3 separate regions of the Homo sapiens genome follow, and all the other regions are linked to region 3. Evidence: promoter capture Hi-C in human tissues and cell types (Jung and others, 2019). All regions are on one chromosome and are shown on one strand. The core of a region is centred on a gene start or on the middle of the fragment in contact, and the rest is flanking DNA. Distances in the headings are between cores, read along the strand shown. Region 1 overlaps FREM1 (FRAS1 related extracellular matrix 1). Region 2 overlaps FREM1 (FRAS1 related extracellular matrix 1). Region 3 holds the start of CER1 (cerberus 1, DAN family BMP antagonist).

Region 1 (2,700 bases), core at 78-2,577, 55 kb before region 3:
GTCTGCAGGGAGGAAAGTCAGAATTAGATATTCAAGATGGCCGCCTCTGATGGAGTCCCTGGCACTCACTCAAGCTTGCATTTGGGTTTGTTGCTCCTGGTCCCATCTCTCCCCTTCTTTCTTCTTCCTTCTCTGCTGATATTTGACATACTTTTAATAGTGCACAATGTCTATAGCTCTACAATTAATGCTAATGCTAAAAATACACGTCCTTTGGCTTATATTTGCGCTAAGGTACCAATGGCTGATTTAACACTCTCCACAGAGCACACTTGATACAGGGATCTGGTAAGGAACAGAGAGCCAGTTTAATGTGAAACAGGGTAGAATGAGAGGTGTGAAACATATTTCTGGAGGGGGAAAATGGGAAAAAGGGAACTTGGAGGCACTGAGGGAGCACCTAGCCTCCTTCCTATTTTATTGTGGGTCAGATGATAGGATCTGGGGGGAATATGAAAAAGTAACAGAAAAACAATAGAATAAAGGCATAACTCTGTTCTCAGGCTCTGCCTGAGAAATAAAGCATAATTTTATACCTAAAAATGTATATCAGTTTACTTTTGAAACTGTGAAGGTGACTAAGTAAAAAGTTTGAAGAACAGACATATTTTTCTAGGTTCCTTTATTTTCTTTTTTAAAATTATTTTTCTTTTTTTAAGATGGGCTTTTGCCATGTTGCCCAGGCTGGTCTCAAACTCCTGAGCTCGAGCGCTCCACCCACCCCAGCCTCCCAGAGTGTCCAAGCTATAGGCGTGAGCTACCGCGCCTGACTTCCTTTCCTTTCCTTCCCTTCCCTTCCCTTCCCTTCCCTTCCCTTCCCTTCCCTTCCCTTCCCTTCCCTTCCCTTCCCTCCCTCCCCTCCCTCCCCTCCCTCCCCTCCCTTCCCTCCCTTTCCTTTCCTCTTTTTTTTTTTTTTTTTTTTTTTGAGACAGGTTCTCTGTCTGTTGCCCAGGCTGGAGTGCGGTGGCACGTTCATGGCTCACTGTAGCCTCAACCTCCCAGGATCAAGTGATCCTTCCACCTCAGCCTCCCTAGTAGCTGGGGCTACAGGCACGCACCACACCCAGCTAAATTTTGTATTTTTTGTAGAGAAAGGGTTTTGCCATGTTACCCAGGCTGATATTGAACTCCTGGACTCAAGCCATCTGCCCGCCTTGGCCAGCCAAGGTACTGGGTTTACAGGTGTGAGCCACTGCACCAGCCTCTTTTATTTTTTTTAATAAATAATTGATTTTTATAAATGCCTCATGATCCAGTAATGAAATTGCCCAATTTGTTAAAAATATACTTATCAAAGGTTTAATTTTATGAAAGGAAAACTGATTGGTTTGTTTTGAGAAAATTATGTGATTTTGCTCAATCTATAATTCTAAAGGTAACTGAATACCTTTATTCAAGGTGTAAAAAATGCTGCTGTGGGGGAAATGTATGAGGTTTCATTCTTTACAAGTCGAGGTGTGTGAAATGTCAAAATTTACTTTATTTGTTGTATTTCACTTAGCAATTTTAACTTTTTGGACATAGATTTCTTTTTCTTTGCATCAAATCAGATATATTTTCCTTGTCAACAGTCTTATTAACTAGATAATTAGAAAACTAAAAAACTTCAGCATAGCCTTCAAAGCAATATCAGTACTCAGCCAAACTCATCTCTTTTTACTTTTTGTCTAACTGCCCTCCCTGAGTCCGTGGTCGCAGGCAGGCTGGTTGACTCGTTGCTTTCACACTATCTAATAGCTTCAGGTTTCTTCATGCTCAAAAGGATCAATGCTCAAACCCTGAAGGACAAGACACATTTCACAAAGAATAAAGGGATTGTTAGTCAAATCTGCCAGATTTGTAAAATAAATATAAATGCCATACCTTCTCTAGTTAAAAAAGAACTTCCAAAGAAAATATACAATTTATATATGTATATAAAATTTATACATAAAAATGTTATGTATAGTTTATACATTCTACGAAAGCATTAGTTTTAGAGGTTTTTGTATCGGTGGAATAGAAGAGTGCATCCTCTACGAATATTTCCAGCAACTATGGTACATGGAGAAAAGCTAACAAGGCACAATTCTGTGATTATTTCTAAGTACATTTCTTTGGTGTACAGTGAATTTGTCAGTCCCATTGGATAGTAACGATTTCCTAACTTTTTGGAGTTTTAATATTGTGCCTTGTTTGCATAATTTCATGATACTCTTAATCTTATTGAAATAAAAATTACATATTGTAATGCTACAAAGATCATTTAAATCAGTGTTATTGTGAAATTGGCTTCAGTAGGTAGAATGTGATTTCATGATCAATAGAATCAAAAGCACATTAAGATATCACAAACCTAAGACTGTAAGAAAGATTTTGCTTGTCTCAAATGTGTATCATTTCAGCTTTCTTTTTATAGTTTTGCAATGGTGCTCAGGCACCACAACTCTTTTGTGGTGGATTGCTAAACCAGAATTTGTTTTAAACTCTGCAAGAGTAGTGGGTGCAGGGATTAAAAGACCTGCATTCTAGTCTCAGCTTCATCTCCTACCTGCCCTTATGATCTCCCACCAACTTTGTGAACCTTTCTTTGAAGCAGGAAAATAATCCTTGTGTAGCATAACTCTCATCTGTCTTATAGGGGGAGAAAGTGCAGAAGCACATGTAAACCATAAGAGATTAGAGCCTCCCGTCATATTTTAGAGTTGGGTGGTACTTAAT
Region 2 (2,700 bases), core at 40-2,539, 34 kb before region 3:
TTGGCATGCCCTATAGTTTTCCAGAAGATTGCTTATGGAATAAGGAAGAATCTGCCTGGATGGTTTTCTAATAATCCTCCCGTCCTCCATAGAAAGCACCATATGCTCTAGGCTGGAGTTTTGGGCCACGCCACCATTCACCTTGCCAGGTAGAAAGAAGAGGCATGGTGTTACATGGAACCTTATGCTTATTTATGCTGAAAGTGCACAACAAACGTGCCAGCTGAGTGTGCAGGCCTTCATCAAGCACAGTCCCAGAGTCTTTCAGGACAACTCTACCCTGAGCACAACCTGCAGCCTTACACTAGAGCTTGGCTGCTTGACTGGGAGCAGGGAAAGAGGTGGTGCTTTTACCCTGTGTGGATTGCCCTGGTTTGAATTGTGCACCTTCACCTGACTGATTTCTCCAACCACCTTGCCTCAGACCATTCCTTTTCCCACATAGGATTCTGTAAACTCAGTGGTAGTAAATACTAGGTAATTGGACATGCAAGAACCATGCAGGGAAATGCAACTTCCAGCATATGGTGGATACAGGTGTATAATGGGCTGCCTTTTCACAATGAAAGGTGGTTCCAGAGGAGCCTTGGCATTGTAGACAAAGAGCAAATGGAAGCTTAGGAAGGTAATCCCCTTTTCCAGCAAAATGTTTCCACTGCTAACCAATTAATATATGAGGGGGCCTTTGATTTGAAATGGACATATTGTCTGAGGCCATAGAAGTAGGAATTTTTCAGCTTTTCATTATGCACTTCATTCTTTTGTCAGAAGGTACAGAAATATATTATCCCACATTCCTGACCATCTTAAACATCTAAAAAATACACACAAGTAACAGAAATGCTTGCACACGGTTCTCATTTGATGACTTATTTTTCAAATCAGCCAAAGACACTTTTTTTTTGTTTTTTGAGATGGAATCTCACTCTATCACCCGGGCTGGAGTGCAATGGCACCATCTCGGCTCACTGCAACCTCCACCTCCCAAGTTCAAGCTCTTCTCCTGCCTCAGCCTCCCCAGGAGGTGGGATTACAGGCGGCCGCCACCATGCCTGGCCAATTTTTTTGTTTTTGGTAGAGACGGGGTTTCACCATGTTGGCCAGGTTGGTCTTGAACTCCTGACCTCAAGTGATCCACCCACCTCTGCCTCCCAGAGTGCTGGGATTACAGGCGTGAGCCACCGTGCCGGCTCAAGGACACTTCTTAACATGTGTTTGGGCACCCTTTGGGTGGAATTCAAGGCCATGACTTCAGAGCGCTAAAATCGCCTCTTTGGTTTTTAGTCTTGGGGCTGGAGCTGAGAAGCAGGGGTGTATCAATAGTCTCCTTAGACTAGGGCATTTTTGTTGTTGTTGTTTTAAAACACCTACCTGACGGGGTCCTTGAAAGTCCTTGGTTTTGGGTGTGGATCTCCTTTGTCTGGTTGTTCACCAGGTCTTCCGGTTCCACAAAACTCTCCTTTCATGTTTGTGAAGAGTAATGGCTTCATCCAGACAGGAAAATGAACCAGATGTGTTTGAGTTAATCTAGTCTAAAGGCTTTCAGTGCCCTGGAGCTTGCAGGATACCTCCAAGCTAGCTGACAGATCATCACATGGGTTGTCAGGGGTACCTGCTTTTTCTTCTCCTCATCAATTTTCTCCCTCCTTTTCTTTTGAGGGACTATTTTAAAACCAAATTGGGATAGAAGGAAGGTAATAAAATTGTGCTTGCAACAAAGACAAAAATATAGTTTAAAATTCATGTTCCTTTCTTCAATAACTAAATCATTTATAAAGGAAAAACCAAACAAAACAAAAGCTTTCCTTTCCATTGATATTAGCCTAGGAAAAAGTCAACTTTAAGGAAAATGCATGTTGCCTGGATCCCAAATGGCTTATATAATTTTTTTAAAAACCCTACCTAATATTAAAAACAGATTTAAGAGCATGAGTTTAGTCCAGTATGAGGGAGAATAGCTGTTTCTCTATTGTAGAATATTTATTTTTATCTTAAAAAGATTTTTTTTTCCCTCCTAAGGTCAACCAAGTGTCAGCTGCAGTTGGAAAAGATTTCACCGTGATTCCATCTAAACTGATTCAGTTTGACCCAGGTACATTTTGTGTCTGCAGTTTGTTTTATGTGTTTTGTTTTTTGTTTTTTTTTGTAGGCATGTCTGGAGATTGTAGAGAAGATAGAATGTTACACAACTTTAGCCAACTAGAAACTCCTCAGGGAGCCATACCACCTCACTCTAAAAGAGAGGTGTTTGGATTTGAGGTTTTGCCCTTATTTTTTTTTAGTAACAAATGAATTTTGATTTCAAATGAGAAGAAAGATTATAATAAATATGAGATATCAAAGCAAACATCCAAGACAATCCAGAAAAAAATACAGTCACTTAGAAATTATTTGAAGTTCTAACACAAAGCTGTTATAGTTTAATTGCCTCAGATATTTTATGAAAATTTTCAGAATGTTATGTTTATATGGATTCCTAAAGGGCATTTCTAAATGATCCCTCATGGAATAGGTTGATATTAGGAGATTCCAGGGGAAATTATTATTTAGTTAAGTAGCACTTACTTTGTTTTAAATTTGTGGAAAAATTTTGCTAGGTGCAAGTGGAAATAAAAAAGGCTGGTACTTGCTCTCAAGTGTGTTCCATTGTGTGAGAAACACAGACAAGAATTAACACTCACTGATAGTGCACTGGGACCC
Region 3 (2,700 bases), core at 43-2,542:
AGAAAGTTTAATCAGTATTGACAAAAAAGGGGGAACATGTTCCAGGACTATTTGTGTTATTGAAAGCAAGGAATATAGTGATTGAATTAAAAGGGGAGAAATAAAAGCAGATATTGCATTGCTTCCCAGTGGAAATACTGTTTGAATCATGTGGTAGGCTGATCGGACTCTATTCTGGGGTTTCAGTTTTCTGGACGTGTTTCTTTTTCGTATCCTAGGCTGATTCATGATAGTTTTGAATGATAGTTATTTTTCAATTTTTCCTTTGATCCCCGAAGACTCTTATTTGTGTCAATCTTTATTTAGCCTGGCCATCAATTAGTGTAAAACAAGGGGAGATGATGTGGATTCAATAAGGTAAGAAACTGACTAGCCAGCGTCACACACAAAGTTATCAAACCTGGTTCTTAGAATCCACGTTCTCATGTCTGGCTCTTTGTTCAAAGGGAAAAAAAAATCAATAGGATGGCTGGAGGGAGACATTTCCCTATCCTCATTGAAGACTGATGAGCTGTCAGTCTATTACGTGGTATCCTGTTGAGGAACATGTGAACAATTGGAAGAGTTTATCTGATGACTGACCAGTTGTGAAATTTAGCACCCATTAATTGATTCTTAATGTGAGAGGATTAACTTGGGAATTGTGAGTTTCTACGTGTGGAAAGGAAAACATATTCCCTTTACTCAGTTACTGTGCAAAAATCAATAACCCCAATTTGCATGTAAGTAAGAAACAATATGTCCCTTGCTCAAAAAAATTAACATCCTTCTAGCTCTTCCTTTCTTCTCCTTACAACTTTGATATACTTCTTCGTGTGTGTGTGTGTGTGTGTGTGTGTGTGTGTGTGTGTGTGTGTGTGAATAGCCTTCCTAAAGGCCTGGGCTTTTTCTAAATGTATGCCTTTAATTTTTATCCAAAAACTTCTCTTACAGCAACATGTCTTGTCTATTCTATTCCAGCACAAGGCAGATGCACAGCAAATGTGAGCTGACTCTAGTCCTTCTTCTGAAAACAGCCATGGGAAATTTAGGCAAAGAATGTGTTGTCTTTGCTAATACTGCTCTTTAAGCCCCAGACATAGCTAAACTCTTAGCTAATTACCCCCTGGGTCCCAGGCTTTCACTGGGGCCTTTTAAAATACACAAAACCAAAGTGACGGCAGGAGGCCATTAGCACTACATAATTCAAGCAAACAATAAATGTGTTTATTCTGCCTGGCTACTGACCACCTGCCTTCCCATCCCGCCAGGCAGGTATCTATATATACGATTTCCTTTTTCCCAGTCCTGCAGAGAATGAGCCTCTCCTTTGGGCCTCATCATTTACAAAAGAAGCTTGGGCCCCTGACAGCATGCATCTCCTCTTATTTCAGCTGCTGGTACTCCTGCCTCTAGGAAAGACCACACGGCACCAGGATGGCCGCCAGAATCAGAGTTCTCTTTCCCCCGTACTCCTGCCAAGGAATCAAAGAGAGCTTCCCACAGGCAACCATGAGGAAGCTGAGGAGAAGCCAGATCTGTTTGTCGCAGTGCCACACCTTGTAGCCACCAGCCCTGCAGGGGAAGGCCAGAGGCAGAGAGAGAAGATGCTGTCCAGATTTGGCAGGTTCTGGAAGAAGCCTGAGAGAGAAATGCATCCATCCAGGGACTCAGATAGTGAGCCCTTCCCACCTGGGACCCAGTCCCTCATCCAGCCGATAGATGGAATGAAAATGGAGAAATCTCCTCTTCGGGAAGAAGCCAAGAAATTCTGGCACCACTTCATGTTCAGAAAAACTCCGGCTTCTCAGGGGGTCATCTTGCCCATCAAAAGCCATGAAGTACATTGGGAGACCTGCAGGACAGTGCCCTTCAGCCAGGTATGTGTTCTGGGGGGAGAGCAGGTAAGAGTTTGCAGGTGGTAGTGGACAGCTGGGATGGATGGAGAGTAGGGGAAAAGGCTGTCAGGAGCCTGACTCTAGCTTAACTACAGATTTGGTCCTTGGGCATTCATCATAGGATTTGGCAAAGATTAAGTTTCCTTCTGGCCTTTCCATTTTTTCTTGGCATTGTGGAAATGCTGCAAGAATGATATGATGATACTGTCAATATCAGTAATCATTCATTCACACTGAAGACACAGAGCTCTGTTTTATTTATTTATTTTTGCATTGGAGGTGATCTACTCAGAGATATAAGTCAGACTGTACCCTCAGTTAGGAAACTGAGAATTTAGAGTAATCACCAGAACTCCTCTGTAGCTATCTTTCTGCACTCTATTAATATGTGGATGAGCAGGTCAACTCCATTTGTTGATAAAGTGGGGTGCATTGGACTCCTTCCCAAATACTCTCATATCCATTTACGATGGTCTTAATCCCCATAGTCCATACTTAATTACTTTATAGGTTTATGAGGGACTTCTTTAATAGCTTGCTAAAGCTATCCCACAACCTCAAAGTACGTTGAGGTTCTCAGGCAAAAGTTGTCATATCATTTCTAGTATTATGATAGCAAAAAAGTGATTTTCTTTCACTTATTTTCTCATATGAGCTTTTTAAAAAATCAATCTTGATGTGAGATCATATCTCCTCCCCTTAGAAGTACCTTTCTCCTGATTCATGTTGTGTTGGCTGATTTGTAGTTATTATGATCAATTCCATGCTATTAAGACAAAGGGACATCCTACTGTCTACTTCCTCTGGCAATATCTACATTCCA

The links. The method cuts DNA at HindIII sites, captures the fragments that hold promoters and counts their contacts. A contact is called where the count stands out against the background at its distance.
Region 1: a fragment that was not itself captured here is called in contact with the fragment with the promoter of CER1 in region 3 in 2 of the 25 tissues and cell types used here (mesendoderm cells and thymus).
Region 2: a fragment that was not itself captured here is called in contact with the fragment with the promoter of CER1 in region 3 in 7 of the 25 tissues and cell types used here (H1 embryonic stem cells, bladder, heart left ventricle and 4 more).

What each region holds. Positions count from the first base shown.
Region 1 is chr9:14,776,833-14,779,532 of GRCh38, reverse strand. The region is part of intron 24 of FREM1 (FRAS1 related extracellular matrix 1); the gene reads left to right. Among named protein-coding and RNA genes, the nearest start is that of CER1, 55 kb to the right of the region's middle. The HindIII fragment of the contact is 3,379 bases long and covers 1-2,700 here.
Region 2 is chr9:14,755,766-14,758,465 of GRCh38, reverse strand. FREM1 (FRAS1 related extracellular matrix 1) reads left to right here. Exons shown (of 37, transcript NM_001379081.2): 29 at 2,020-2,092. Among named protein-coding and RNA genes, the nearest start is that of CER1, 34 kb to the right of the region's middle. The HindIII fragment of the contact is 4,137 bases long and covers 1-2,700 here.
Region 3 is chr9:14,721,325-14,724,024 of GRCh38, reverse strand. It overlaps CER1 (cerberus 1, DAN family BMP antagonist), which reads left to right and starts at 1,292. Exons shown (of 2, transcript NM_005454.3): 1 at 1,292-1,859. The coding sequence starts at 1,353. RefSeq lists enhancers at 267-1,204, 1,205-2,144. The HindIII fragment of the contact is 6,126 bases long and covers 1-2,433 here.